Linked DNA regions of Homo sapiens: all the other regions are linked to region 1. Evidence: promoter capture Hi-C in 16 types of primary human blood cells and fetal thymus (Javierre and others, 2016). All regions are on one chromosome and are shown on one strand. The core of a region is centred on a gene start or on the middle of the fragment in contact, and the rest is flanking DNA. Distances in the headings are between cores, read along the strand shown.

The links. The method cuts DNA at HindIII sites, captures the fragments that hold promoters and counts their contacts. A CHiCAGO score of 5 or more calls a contact.
Region 2: a contact is called between a fragment that was not itself captured here and the fragment with the promoter of PERP in region 1, in 2 of 17 cell types (erythroblasts and neutrophils). The highest score is 6.5, in erythroblasts.
Region 3: a fragment that was not itself captured here is called in contact with the fragment with the promoter of PERP in region 1 in 4 of 17 cell types (naive B cells, neutrophils, naive CD4 T cells and 1 more); the score reaches 7.7 in naive B cells.
Region 4: a contact is called between a fragment that was not itself captured here and the fragment with the promoter of PERP in region 1, in 1 of 17 cell types (neutrophils). The highest score is 5.8, in neutrophils.

Annotation. Positions count from the first base shown.
Region 1 is chr6:138,105,584-138,109,162 of GRCh38, forward strand. PERP (p53 apoptosis effector related to PMP22) reads right to left here and starts at 1,836. Exons shown (of 3, transcript NM_022121.5): 1 at 1,544-1,836. The coding sequence starts at 1,757. RefSeq lists a silencer at 1,965-2,014. The HindIII fragment of the contact is 14,503 bases long and covers 1-3,579 here.
Region 2 is chr6:138,557,876-138,561,454 of GRCh38, forward strand. It overlaps a transcript of NHSL1 not described here. Among named protein-coding and RNA genes, the nearest start is that of NHSL1, 60 kb to the left of the region's middle. The HindIII fragment of the contact is 2,874 bases long and covers 124-2,997 here.
Region 3 is chr6:138,529,206-138,532,784 of GRCh38, forward strand. It overlaps a transcript of NHSL1 not described here. Among named protein-coding and RNA genes, the nearest start is that of NHSL1, 32 kb to the left of the region's middle. The HindIII fragment of the contact is 8,403 bases long and covers 1-3,579 here.
Region 4 is chr6:137,689,120-137,692,698 of GRCh38, forward strand. No RefSeq gene overlaps it. Among named protein-coding and RNA genes, the nearest start is that of LINC03004, 25 kb to the left of the region's middle. The HindIII fragment of the contact is 9,855 bases long and covers 1-3,579 here.

The DNA.
Region 1 (3,579 bases), core at 586-3,085:
CACTGATCATAGTTCTGCCAATATCCCCGCCACCAGTCAAAGGCACGCTAGTCTTACTTTATATGTGGAGGATTACTGCATATACTTTGGGTCTGCATTAGTCTTTGGAGTAGGGTATAATTATCAAAGTATGTTTAAAAACACACACGCAGATCTGTTAGGTCCCCTAGAAGAGACTGAGTTCAGATGCATTTTAACTAGAAGATAGAGGTACATTATTTCAAAAAACAATTAATTCGCTTTAAAAACCTAAAACACTGGAGATGATACAAACCTGAGCTGGCACAGTGTATGGGTTTTCAGAGAAGAAAACACACAAACTGCAAAGAAAGCTGGAATTTTCTGCAGTGTTTACATTTTATTACCTGGCTAATGGGGACCATGCTTCCTTTTGTGGGGAAGTGACGTCCAAAGGATTACACAAAAGAAAGGGCACCAAGTTGCTGATATAGTCCCCCGGAAACACAAATAAACAGGATTGGGTTGGAAGCCCTGGGCCACTTCAAAGAAAAAAATCAAGTCAATGGTAATAGTAAGAAATGAAAACAGGCAGGGTAGCTTGCTGTCTGTGTTTAAAACTATTAAACCCGGTAGGTAAAGCCCATTTGGCTTTAAGGTTTTATTAGGCTCTCACAGACCCCATCTCCACCCCCACACACATTGCTAATCACAGTAGACCCCAGCTGTGATTCCCATCCACCCCCAGGAAAGGAGAGGGGGCTTCCCACTGTGAAAGAAAATGCCTTCTCAGACAAGAACTATGCTCCAGTCCTGACTTTCAGCAAGGCAAGCAGGGAGCTTCCTCCATGCTGGGAAAATGGCATACAGTACTTCACCTGCTAGGTACATTAAATTTGTCAACTCTGCTTCACGTCGCGAGTGTAGGGAATGTGTTTGCTTTTTAGATTTCAAATCGGATTAAAATAATTAAGTTTTCTAAACAACAATGCCATGCTTAAACCAAAGGACACGCCCTAGAACAAGAGCTAACAAGAACTAGCCTGACCGGTAAAGTAGACTGAAATATCTATTGAAAACGTTAACTGCTAAAACTGCCTGAAAGGGCTTTTTTAAATGAGAAAGTTTTTTCAGCTATATCAAGTTGAACGAATCCACTGATATTAGGGAAGGCACGTTATTTCAATATTTATATTTTAATCATAAGAAGAAACGAGAAGGAAGAGAAATGGGAAGAAATTTCAGGTCTCCAAGAAACTTTGTTCATTATATTTACTCATCTAAACTTGCAATGCTTGAAATAATCTTTCGTACGTAACCGACAAAACCCAGGAAAAAAACTATACAGTTTGAACTACGGCCTTTTTTTTTTTTCTGTTTCTGAGCTTGGTGTTGGCCACCCAAAGCTACTGCTGCTGCATTTGGTTCAGGTCGGATGCATGAGCCCGAGCTCGTCCTAAACAGGCATTCTGAAAAGCACTGGCTCCCCCGACCCTGTGAGGGCCCATCACGCGCGGCGGCTTTTGCAGGCCGCGGCCCCGAGGGCTTCCTGGAGGCGGCGACGGCGGCGGCGGCGGGCACTCACCGTACTCCATGAGGCTCTGACAGCCCTCCTCGTAGGACCCGCTGCCGCCGCCCTCTTGGGAGCATTTCCACCACAGCGAGGACGTCTGGCCGTGGTCGCTAGACTGCAACCAGCCGCGGCCGGCCAGCGCGATGATGTCGAAGGCGATGGCGCTGAGTAGGAGCAGGGGCAGGATCCAGCGGCAGCGCTCGCAGGCCAGGCCGCAGCGGATCATGTTGACGGGCGGCGCGGGGCCGAGCGGAGCGGAGCGGAGCGGGTCGGAGGAGCGCGCGGGACGGGCGACAGCAGAGAGTGGCCTGCGAGCGCGGGCGCCGCCACAAAAGCGAAGAGGCCGCGGGGAGGCGGCTCCCGAGGACGCCGCTCCGGGCGGCCCCACCTAGATTCCGGTGACTCAGAGCGCGCCCGCCCCGACCTGCCCTGCCGGGCCGGGGCGGGCGGGGCCGCTGGTAAACAGGCTGGGTTCTGGTGACACCGGGCGGCGGCGGAAGGCGGCCCGAGGGTCCCGCGCGTCCCACAACCCTCCAGTCCCGCTCTCCTGGCCTCTCCAGGCGCGTGTTTTGTCTTCCTGGCGCACCAACATATACACTTGTTTATCTGCACAGCGCCAGCCTAATATCTGACCCCTGATGTCGCATCGTGGGGCGGTGGTCAGCAGTGCCATATCTGAGTTTTCAGCAGTGTGAGATGGGTGTTCTAATTGCACCTGTGGATAAAGGCTGCACTCCTTTGGACGCGTGCACCCAAACCCAGAAGCCCGTCCCTGACCCCTGCTGACACAGGTGATCCCTTCCTCCTAGGCTCCGCCTTTGCACCTTGGACCGTGGCTCCCCGGGTACTCTTATCTCTTTGCATGCTGTTCTTTCCTGCTGGGTTGCCAGATTTTGGAAAGCGGAGGCGATGCTGAATTTATCTGTGTATCCTTAGTGTCCGGCACCGTGTTTGGATCTCAAGGGGAGCTCAGTGAATTTGATGAATGAACATGTAATTTAACAAATGCTCGCTTCCTTTCGGAAAGGCTTCATCTGGCTTCCCCAGATAATTTCATGTCGCCTCTGCTGCAGTCCACTTCCTATCACGAATCTCTACCTATTTAAACTGCACTCTCTCTACTCTTCATTTACTATTTTGAGGTTTTTCCAAATAAAAATCATACGTCAGCATGCAACCTGCATTTAGGATCCCCCCTTCGGTGTCCTGGGCTAGCTCCCGTCGCAGTTCTGACTCCTAAGATGTGACAGGAAGGGTGGGGTGGCAGCCAGGTGTGCCGCTGAGGACAAAGGAGTTCTCAGTGTCAGGCACCTCGGTGGCCTTGGGAAAATCACTGAAACATCGTATGGGGGTCATGTCTTAACCCTGTACCTCCAAAGATTTCTTCTGAATCCCCTATTTTTTCTGTTAATTTAATATAAAAGTGGGAACTACTTAAAAATATTTTAAATTGTATTCCAATTTGATATTCTCAATAGAAACAGAATACTCTTTTGACTTATGCCATTTTCTGGCAATTCTTGAGGACGAATAAAAGCATGGAGAAAGTATCTGAAAATACATGAAATAATTTCCCTAGCCTTCATTTTACATAATTCAAGTTTTACATAAACCACGTCATATATTTTTATTACAGGAAAATATTTTCACTTTCAAAGAACACAAGAGGGTGTTCTGCCAAAAGTTAATTTTGTATCGTGGAAGCTGTGTGAAGAAAATGGTGATATTTATGTTCTCAGGGTTTTCAAAAGTAATGAAGATATTTGTTTAATTAGCTATGTATAATATATTTGTGAGAAAAAAAAATTCTTATAAGTCAAATACTGACCAGAAGCAAAGTGGCTTCAGACAAAATGAGAGTTTTGCAGGCATCTTAATATCTCTGGATAATTTTGGACTTGATATATATAATTTATTTTCGTTATTCAATGAAACCATTTCCGATGGGCTTGAGGAAAAGAGCTCATTAATGCCGAGGTGAACACAAAGAGATTAGCTCTTCACAATTTCTGGAAGAGACCACATTGACCCTGGTGGGTTTCCAACAA
Region 2 (3,579 bases), core at 311-2,810, 450 kb after region 1:
CATGCATGACTACTGCACAAACCATGACCTGTAAACAGGCTCTGGGTGTAGACTATACTTTAGAAAGATGTTCATTAAAAAATATTTTCAATTGTTTTAGAATTCTGAAAGATGAACGAGGCAAGCTTCTGTTATATGGAACTACAAATAAGTAAAAGGCATACTTCTCTAGTATTTTATACAAGTTAATATCTAGTCTATATGATCACAATTTAGAAAAGTATCTCTAACCAATTACCAGGGTTTTTTGGGGGGCTTTTTTTTTGAGATGGAGTCTTGTTCTGTTGCCCAGGCTGGAGTGCAGTGGTGCGGACTCGGCTGACTGCAACCTCCGCCTCCTGGATTCAAGCAATTCTCCTGCCTCAGCCTCCCGAGTAGCTGGGACTACAGGCACCCACCACCACGCCCGGCTAATTTTTTGTATTTTTAGTAGAGATGTGGTTTCACCGTGTTAGCCAGGATGGTTTCGATCTCCTGACCTCGTGATCCACCTGCGTCAGCCTCCCAAAGTGCTGGGATTACAGGGGTAAGCCACTGTGCCCACCCTTTTTTTTTTTTTTTTCCCTGAGACAGAGTCTCACTCTGTCGCCCAGGCTGGAGTGCAGTGGCACAATCTCAGCTCACTGTAGCCTCCGCCTCCTGGGCTCAAGCAATTCTCCTCCCTCAGCCTCCTGAGTAGCTGGGACTACAGGAGCACACCACCATGCCCAGCTAATTTTTGTATGTTTAGTAGAGACAGGGTTTCACCATGTTCAGGACGGTCTTGATCTCCTGACCTCGTGATCCACCTGCCTCGGCTTCCCAAAGTGCTGGGATTACAGGCACGAGCTACAGTGCCTGGCCCCAGTTACCAGTTTTTACAGTAACTGTTTCAAAAAAAACACTACAGCCAGGCAGTGGCTCACGCCTATATTCCCAGCACTTTGGGAGGCTGAAGTGGGAAAATCACTTGAGGCTAAGAGTGAAGACCAGCCTGGGCAACATAGCAAGACCCCTTCTCTACAAAAAAACAAAATAAAATAAATTAGCCAGGCATGGCGGCAGGCCCCTGTAGTCCCAGCTAACTTGGGAGGCTGAGGCAGGAGAATTCCTTAAGCCCTAGAGTTCAGGTTACAATAACCTATGAGTGCACCACTGCACTCCAGCCTGGACGACAGAGGGAGACTCTATCTCTTTAAAAAGAAAAAAAAAAAAAGAAAACCACCAAAACATTGCTTTTGTTTTCCAGTTCCAACATAGGATCTCTGCTACATACAGGCTAGAATCCAAAAATTGGAAGTTAAAGTTTTGGACTAAACTTCACAACTAATTTTCCCCTATGGGGGATGGACAGTAGGCTGGTAAATAAAGACAGAGAAATCTACAGGATCAGGGCAGAAACTGGCCAGACATTGCTATTCATGGGCTTTCCCTAGGGCCAGTGAGCAGGTGCAGGGAATCAGCCTGAGTGCATCAGCAGGCTCTTCCACACTGCCCTGCAGCAGGCAGCAAGGCTCCTGTTGGCAATCACTCGGTCCTGCTGCCAACTTTCAAGGCTTATACACCAACGGGGTCCTGGACTAGGGGCGCAGAGGGGAACTCAGAAAAGGACTTCCTATGGTGGATGAATGCGTAGGTGGCTCAGAGTCACAAGCTGGGTTTTGGACCAGATGGTTTTCTGAGAGGCACCACTACTCTACACTGTTTCTCAAAGTACTCCTGGTATACCAGGCCTTTCTCCAACACCAAGACAACAGTGGACTATCTACAGAAATTCCATCATAGCTTGTAACTTCTACATATTGAGAAAAAAAAGCTATGTGATACACATGCATAATAACACCCTACTGAAAAAAGTGAAGTCTACCGAAAGCACCATTTTTGAGGGTCATAAAATCAAGTAGTAAGTCAGGACTGACATTTTCTGTTTGATAACATAGAATAGAATAAACAGAGAAAACAGAGTACCATATGTAGACACGCAGTAAAGGTAAATCATTCCACAAAGCTATTCCATGTACGCATGCCATGCATATATGCCATGTGTGGCATGGGAACCAATGTAAAGTGTATTTATTACTTTGGACACAAACAAAACTTTTTAAACTCTCTGACTTAAAAAATAAACTATAATTAAACTTTTCAGGCCCTGAAAACCCCAAAACATTCACACCATAGTTCCTGTAGGAGATTATTTCCCCCATTTGAAACAAGCATGGATTCTAGAGAAAACTAGCTCAACTTTCTCAGAAACTAGAGAAGAATTTACTAATTGGATTTTTGTTCAAACCTTTATTATTAGTTGGAGTTGGAACATAACCTTCGAGATTTCTAAAGTCAGTGGCATAACCTTCCCCTGGTTACAGTGACATAAGAACACAGATCAACTGAATAAACCAACACATTCTCCAGAGTGGCGATGTAACCAAGGTCTGCTGATCCAAAGCAATGTCGAAAGACAGAAACCCCAACCTCGCCAGCTTCATAAAGCATCAATAGCACACAAATGAGACACGGTGGCTTAAAAGTGGCTTGCAAATGGAACAGAGCTAAGATCCTTATGACAGAACAACACTCAGGCATGCACACGTAAGGACAAAGAGTTGGACTTGGGAAGCTAGCAAGGAAAAAATATTTGAAACATCTTTTTATAATGGGAATAGAGTGTGTTGAAGAACTCAGCAATGAAATGACTTTACGGTAGAAATCAAAGTTCTTTTTCCAGGAAGTCAGAGCATTCTATGTACTTTCTACTGGTGAAAAACTTATGTAAATAAATAACTACCAGGCAAGATGATCACAGCAACCAAACTAAGCACCAGCCACAACCACCCACAAGGTAAATTCACAAATTGCCTTGTGTCTGCTTTGTAAAAGAATCCCCGACCAATCAAGACTAAAGCAATACCCACCCGTATTCAGGAAGGAATGCTGGTTTATCTCAGAAGGCAATCCAGAAACACCAGATACCCAGTTTCTGCTTTAGCTGAGGCGTTTCTAGTTACAAAGTTAAAGAGAAGCTTAGGGAATAGAGGCAAGGGAACTGTATCGACAATAAAATATACTTATTCTCATGTTCTCTAGTCAAGTTTATGGAAAAGACAAAACTCAAGTGATACTGTTTAAAGAAATCTCAACTGCTTGTGGCTTTTATTAATACTTGCGAGTTTTCCTTCGAGAAAGCCAAACATATATTAAGCCCAAGCCTGACAATTTACTGTACCACTAAAATTATTTTAACCAGTGAATAGATTAGCCTTTATTCTTGTTCTATACCTTTTTCAATAATGCACAAAAACTTATTAAGCTATGTCTTAAAACATAAAAACAAACCTACAATACTACAAGTGTACAATTAGCGATGCAAGCAGCATATTCAGAAATTTGACCAAGCTCCCACAAACCACAATTACTTAGGGGATGGGAATCCAAAAAGTCTTAGCTAAGCGGTGGCGGGTGCGGGGCATGGAACCGGATCAGTATGGGAGTGATGATCTCTTCTTTCCTTATAGCTTATTCCCTCCTCTTCCCTCCAGGTTACTGCCACCTTCTTCCATTCACTACCATTCCCAATACAGTCTTTTTCAAAAATAAGAGGGC
Region 3 (3,579 bases), core at 391-2,890, 420 kb after region 1:
TTGCATCAGCCAGAAATAAAGACTCCCTTGCAGGTGTCAGAAAGGTCATTCAATTTTGGTGTTTATCAGACATTGTCCAATATTAAGTTCTACTGGAAATCAAATCTAATAGAAAGGTTCCCAAAGCAAGACACTCCTGTCCCTCAACTCCATTTTTTGTTTTGTTTTAATGACGTAGTAGTTTTCTACAGCCTTTCTAAAGGCTCATTCTCAATGTTGCCTCGGATGAGAGCCATGTTATGATGAGTGCTGTTATAACAACTTAACATGAATTTAGCACCTGCAGATAATACCCATTTATTATCTCACAGTTCTGCAGGTTAGCAGTCCAGCAGACTTGGCTGGGGGCCTTGCTTAGGGTCTCACAAGGCCTAAACTTAACTGTCGGCCAGCCTGGGCTTTTATCTGAAGGCTGTGCAGAAGAATCAGCTTCCAAGCTCATTGTTGGCAGAATTCAGTTCCTTCTCAGTCTCCTACTGCTCCCTCTATCTTCAAGCCAGCAACAGCGTACTGACTCCTCACCCACAGAATCTCTCAACTTCCGCTCTGCCATCAACCAGAGAGAGCTCTGCTTTTCAGTGCTCCTGTGATTACATTAGGCCCACTTGGATAATCCAGGCTAATCTCCCTTGGGTAAGGTCATTGATTAGTAACTTTAATGACATCTGAAAAGTCCCTTTTTGCCATGTAGTGTAACATACTGACAGACATGGCAGGAATAAAAGTCACAGGGGTAAAAATTTTTGCCTATCATATTTAGTAGACTGGAGTTGTTTTCCATTATTTGAATTCTTTAATTCCAGAAGACTCAAACAGACCATTTTGCCTTAATAATCAATTATAGATTACAATGGTCTGAATGTTTGTCTCCCCAAAATTCTTATGTTAAAATCTTAATCCCCAATGTGATGGTATTAGGAGGTGGGGCCTTTGGAAGGTGATTAGGTCATCAGAGTGGAGACCCCATGAATGGAATTAGTACACCTATAAAATTAGTGCACCTACAAAAGAGGCCCCAGAGAAATGCAAATTAAAACTGCAATGAGATACCACCTTACTCTTGCAAGAATGACCATGTTGGCAGGGATGTGGTGAAAAGGGAACACTTTCACACTGCTGGCAGAACTGTAAACTAGTACAACCACTATGGAAAACAGTATGGAGATTCCTTAAAGAACTCAAAGTAGAAGTACCATTCGATCCAGTAATACCACTATTGGATATCTACCCAAAGGAAAAGAGGTCATTATATGAAAAAGATACATGCACATGCATGTTTATAGCAGCACAATTTGCAATTGCAAAAATGTGGAACCAGCCTAAATGCCCAATAACTGAAGAGTGGATAAAGAAAATCTGATATATATACACACCATAGAATACTACTCAGCCATAAAGTGGAATGAAATAATGGTCTTTGCAGCAACTTGGATGGAGATGGAGACCATTATTCTAAGTGAAGCAACTCAGGGATGGAAAACCAAATATTGTATGTTCTCACTTATAAGTGGTAGCTACTAAGTGAGTTACCAAATATAGTGATATATAGCTATGAGGATGCAAAGGCATTAAAATGGTATAATGGACTTTGGGGACTTGGGGGAAAGGATGGGAGTGGGTGAGGGATAAAAGACCACATGTTGGGTAGGGTATACACTGCTCAGGTGGCAAGTGCACCAAAATCTCAGAAATCGTCACTAAAGAACTTATCCATGCAACCAAAAACCATCTGTTCAATAGTTTTTGACTATTGAAATAAAATTTAAAATATTTTTTTTTTAAAAAAAAGGCCACAGTTTTCTCCTCTCTTTTTCCATGTGAAAATACTATGAGGAGACAGCAGTCTGCAACCCGGAAGAGGAACCTCACCAGAATTCATGCTGATACCTTGATCTCAGACTTCCAGCCTACAGAACTGTGAGAAATAAAATTTGTGGCTTACAGGTCACCCAGTCTATGGTACTTTGTTATAGCAGTCTGAACTAAGATATAAATCAAAAATTAAACTGTTTGTCTGCATTTTCTTGAATGGGTTCATATTTTTAGTTTTCACCACCATTCCAGGTAATAAACAGCATCACTCCTAGTCTTGAATAACTGCCTTTGGTTGACAATGTCCATTCTAATTTACTCTTACAGAATACTGTGGTATTTCCTCTTAAATACAATCTTCCAGGGCAAGGCATGGTATTCCAGGTAAGAACAGTTAGTTTGTAACTTTTGTAACTTCAAATAAGGGGGCAGGGTAACGCTTTCCATTTTGTTTCTGTTTTTCTTAGATCTACTTCATTTGTCAACCATTTTGTTTCTCTCTCTTTTTTTTTTTTTCCTGAAACAGGGTCTTGCTCTGTTGCCCAGGCTGGAGTGCAGTGGCAACATCTTGGCTCAATGTAGCCTTGACCTCCCACTTCAGCCTCCACAGTAGCTGAGACTACAGGTATGTGCCACCACACCTGGCTAACTTTTTTGTCTTTTTGTTTTTTGTTTTTGTAGGGGCAGGGTTTTGCCATGTTGCTTAGGCGGGTCTTCAATTCCTGACCTCAAGTGATCTGCCTGCCTAGCCTTCTAAAGTGCTGGGATTACAAGTGTGAGCCACAATACCTGGCTAATTCTTTTTCTGATATTAAACCAGATGATACACCAGAATTTTCCTTTATATCTTAAATTTTTTTCAATTATTAACAAAGTAATATAGCCAACATTTATGTGCTTCTTGGTATCAATGGTAATGAACAATACACATTCCCTACCCTCTAGGTTCTTATTGCCTAGCACAAGAAAACAGACAGATGTATGACACTGTGATAGGTAACTCAGAGAAGGGGTTACTAACCAGCATTGGAATATTATAGAGAACTTCCAAGAGGAGGTAACATCTGAACTGAATCCTGTAAGTCTAATCTAAAGATCAGGTTGAAGCAATAGGGGAGAAGCAGATATTCCCTCAAGGCAGAGGGTCCTGGCACGTGCCAAGGAAGGTGAACACAGTGGGAAATATGGATGGGGGAAGAGGCTACTGAGAATTGAAGCTCAAGAAGAAAATAAGGAGGCATTCTGTCATGAAGGGCTCCTCTATGTCATGTTAGGGAATTTACACTTCATCCTGAAGGCAATGGAACAGTGGTGGTAGGGAACTGAAGACTTTTTAACCAGAGAAGAAACAGTTGCAATCTGTTTTTTCATTCTGGATAGAGTTTGGAGAAGGGATGCTAGGTAATTAGCCTAGGATCCGTGAGTCAGGAGCCTAATAAAGGCATGAGATGCTAACAGTCATCTCACTGAGGCAGTGGTGACCCAAGGGCTGGAGAGAAGGGATGGAATTGACAAGAAGTACAAGAGAATGGGAGAGGAGAGAGAAAGAGGGTTCCTAGTTTCTGGCTACATTCTGGGTATCTTATCTCATTTGATCCCCCACAAAATCACCCCATCAAGCAAGCAGGGCAATCACTTCTATTTATTAGATGGCAACAAATGGCTCAGAGTAGTTAGGTGGCTTATTCTGAGTCAATAAATGTGAGACTTGGGATCAGAAACTCTGATTCCTAGGTTAGGGGTCTTTCTGTTTTACATGCAGAAATT
Region 4 (3,579 bases), core at 623-3,122, 420 kb before region 1:
ATGGATTCAGAAATAAGTTTTCAAACTCTCAAATCTAAATATGATGGATGTATACATTCTCTGATTCCAAAATAACACTATTTGGTCTGTTTTCACAATTTGAATTCTATTCCTGTTGGAACGCCTGGCTCAAAAGCCAGAGTGCCTTCTCCATCTTGATTCTCTCTTCATTCTCTCCTCTTTGAGTCAATTTGCAGTTTTATTCCAGAATGAACCTCCTGGGTTGTCTGGGAGTATCAACAAAGGCATATTATAACACAATACATTCCTAGTTTTATTTGGCAGCACCAGCCCTGAGACAGGCCTTCATTTGTGATGGTCAGAATGCCTACGAAACAAGGAAATATTTATATGTGCAAAATTTGGAAGGTACAGGGAGGCAAGTTGCATCAGTGGGAGATCAAAGGTCAATGCTGGATGGGATGTTTTGTTCCCAGCCTCCATCGGTTGAACTTAGGTGGGAACAGATCAAAGGCTCATGGGAAATGGGCATGGAACTCCCCACCGTCCGATGCCAAGTGGTGACCAGAACAGATGGGAGCAGAATGATAAGCACAGCATCCCACATCAATGGATACTTATTTGGAAGTAACTGAAGTGGAAAGGTCAGGATAAAATGTCAGCATCTCTGTGTGGGTGAAAATATGTCTGAGAAACTAACTTCGCTCCAAGAAATATGAAGGCAAAGGGGAATGCCTTGGAATCAAAGAGAAGACACTTTCAGTGCCTTTATCCCAGCTGAATGTACTCTTAGACTCCCTAAACCTGATTAAAGTTTTCTCTTACCCTTAGTATGCAATCCTTGCTTTACCCTTGTTGCTATTTGGTCAAAAAGTTGGAGAAGTTGCTGCTAGTGAAATGTTTATGGAAGAAAATGTTTTGGTAATGAAAATAACAGGAAACAATTTTCCCCTCTTGATATTTTTAGGATACTTAGAAAAACTTCAGGAAAGTCATTTTGAGCTGATCACTAGATGTTCATTATTTCCTCCTCATTTAGTTTGATGTTACTTATGAATTCACTAACATTTATTGAGCATTTGCATTGAGTCAGGTTCAAGAGAGGTTTATGGTCAGTCATATACACCTCAGGGGCACTTAACTGGGAAGGTTAGTGATTTATGGAAGCAATGACTCAGGAAAGCAAAGTCTAAGATAAATTGATAGTATTAACACAAATATTAATATCAACACAGGAGTGCCCTAAAGAGCAGAAGGGAGTGGGAGGTTGGATGAAGACTAGAAAGCTGCACAGCTTCACAGCTCTAGGCCTTATTCTCCATTGTATAGGAACCCTTATAGTTTCTGTTTGCTATGCTGTGCCCTTTGAAAGAAAACTGCAAACTTCCCTAATCATGATATGGTGCACCCACGTTTTCCAACATTAGCAATGGAGTAAGAATCCTGTGTCCAGAGGGGCAGATGGATCTTGCGCCTCTGACTTGCTCCACTTTCTTAGGAATTGTATTTTTTTTTTTCTCACTGTTGCCACCATGATGCCTCAGGCAGCACTGCTCCTTTACATCTTTGTCTACATGGAAAACAGGACCTAATGCCTTAATGCCCTCTTAGAACAGTGCTTACAGAAGTAATGAAAGCTAGAAATGGCATAAATATAAATAATGTGATTTACAAGATGCATTTACCATCTAGGACTCCAGGCCTCTTCCCATCTCATCTTGTGGTTTTTTTCCCATGAGCCTGACATTATCTCACCTCCCAGATCCCATGTTTCCTACACTTATACCCAAGGGATCATACCCCAGGAAGAAATACAAGTTCAACTTTTCCGCACAAGGTCATCAAGGGTGTGGTTACTTTTATGTGTCAACTTGACTGGGGATGCCCAGATAGCTAGTAAAACATTATTTTGGGGTGTGTCTGTGAGGGTGTTTTCAGAAGAGATCAGCATTTTAATCAGTAGACTAAATAAAGAAGATCCATCCTCACCAGTGTAGGCATTCATTATCCAATCCATTAGGAGCCCAAGTAAAACAAAAAAAGTGGAGGAAGGGAGAATATGTTCTCTGTTTCCCCTGAGCCATCATCTTCTCCTGCTCTTGGACATTGAAGCTGCTGGTTCTCAGGCCTTCAGACTTGAACTAAATAATACCACTGGCTTTCCTGATTCTCTAGTTTGCAGACAGCAGATTGTGGGACTTCTCAGCTTCCTTAATGTTGTGATCCAATTCTCATAATAAATCCTATTGGTTCTGTTTCTCTACAGAACCCTAAGTCCCTCAATCGATTCCCAGGCTTGAGCCAGTTTAAAGATCCAGAATGCTTGAGTGAAGGCGAGGTAGGGTCCCCTCAAGGAAGAACCCCAGTACACTACCAAAAATGTATAGTATTAATCATCCTCCCAGTCTTCCCCAAAGAGACCTATGGTTTTTTGTTGTTGTTGGTTTTTGTTTTGTTTTTGTTTTTTGAGATGGAGTCTCACTCTGTCGCCAGGCTGGAGTGCAGTGGTGTGATCTCGGCTCATGGCAACCTCTGCCTCCTGAGTTCAAGCTATTCTCCCGCCTCAGCCTCCCAAGTAGCTGGGACTACAGGTGTGTGCCACCACACCTAGCTAATTTTTGTATTTTTAGTAGAGATGAGGAAGACCTATGGATTTTTACCAGTATAAATGTGCACCAGAGAAAGGAAAATAATCAGACATTTTAGGGACTACAGAACACTGGGAGCAAGGTCCTGCCATCATCCACAGATAACTACTCTCCTTTTAAGAGACAGCTTTTGGCCTGCTCCTGGGCCTTGTGCAAATGGAATGCAGAACTACAGCCTCTCTCTATGGTATCCCTAAAAGACAGTGGTGAAGGGAAATCCTCCCAGTGGGCAGAACTTCAGGCAGTACACCTGGTTGTGACTTTGCAGGAGAAGAAGAAATGGCCATATGTGAGATTACATACTAATTCATGGGCCGTAACAGATGGTTTGGTTGGAGGATCAGGGACTTAGAAGAAACATGATTGGAAAATTGGTGACAAATGAAATTTGGAGATGTATATACATAGATTACTTTGAATGTGCAAAAAATATAAAAATATTTGTGTCCCATACAAATGCTCACCAAAGGGTGACCTCAGCTGGGGAGGATTTTAATAATTACATAGCTAGGATGACTGTTCTGTGGATATCAGTCAGCCCTATTGCCAGCCACCTCATGCTTGCCCAATGGGCGCATGAATAAAGTGGCCCCGGTGGCAGGGATGGAGATTATGCATGGGTTCAGCAACATCAGCTTCCACTCACCAAGGCAAACCAGGCTACGGCCACTGCTGAGAGCCCAATATACCAGCAACAGAGATTGACACTGATCCCCTGCTATGGCACCATTCCCTGGGGAGATCAGCCAGCTACCTGGTTGCAGGTTGACTAGATTGGACAGCTCCTATCGTGGAAGGGACAATGTTTTGACCTTACTTATTCTGGATATGAATTTGCCTTCCTTACATGCAATGCTTCTGCCAAAACTACCATTCATGGACTCACAGAATGCTTTATCCTCTGTCATAGTATTCCACACAGCATTGCTTCTCACCAATAACTCACTTCACAGCTAAAGAAGTGCAGCAA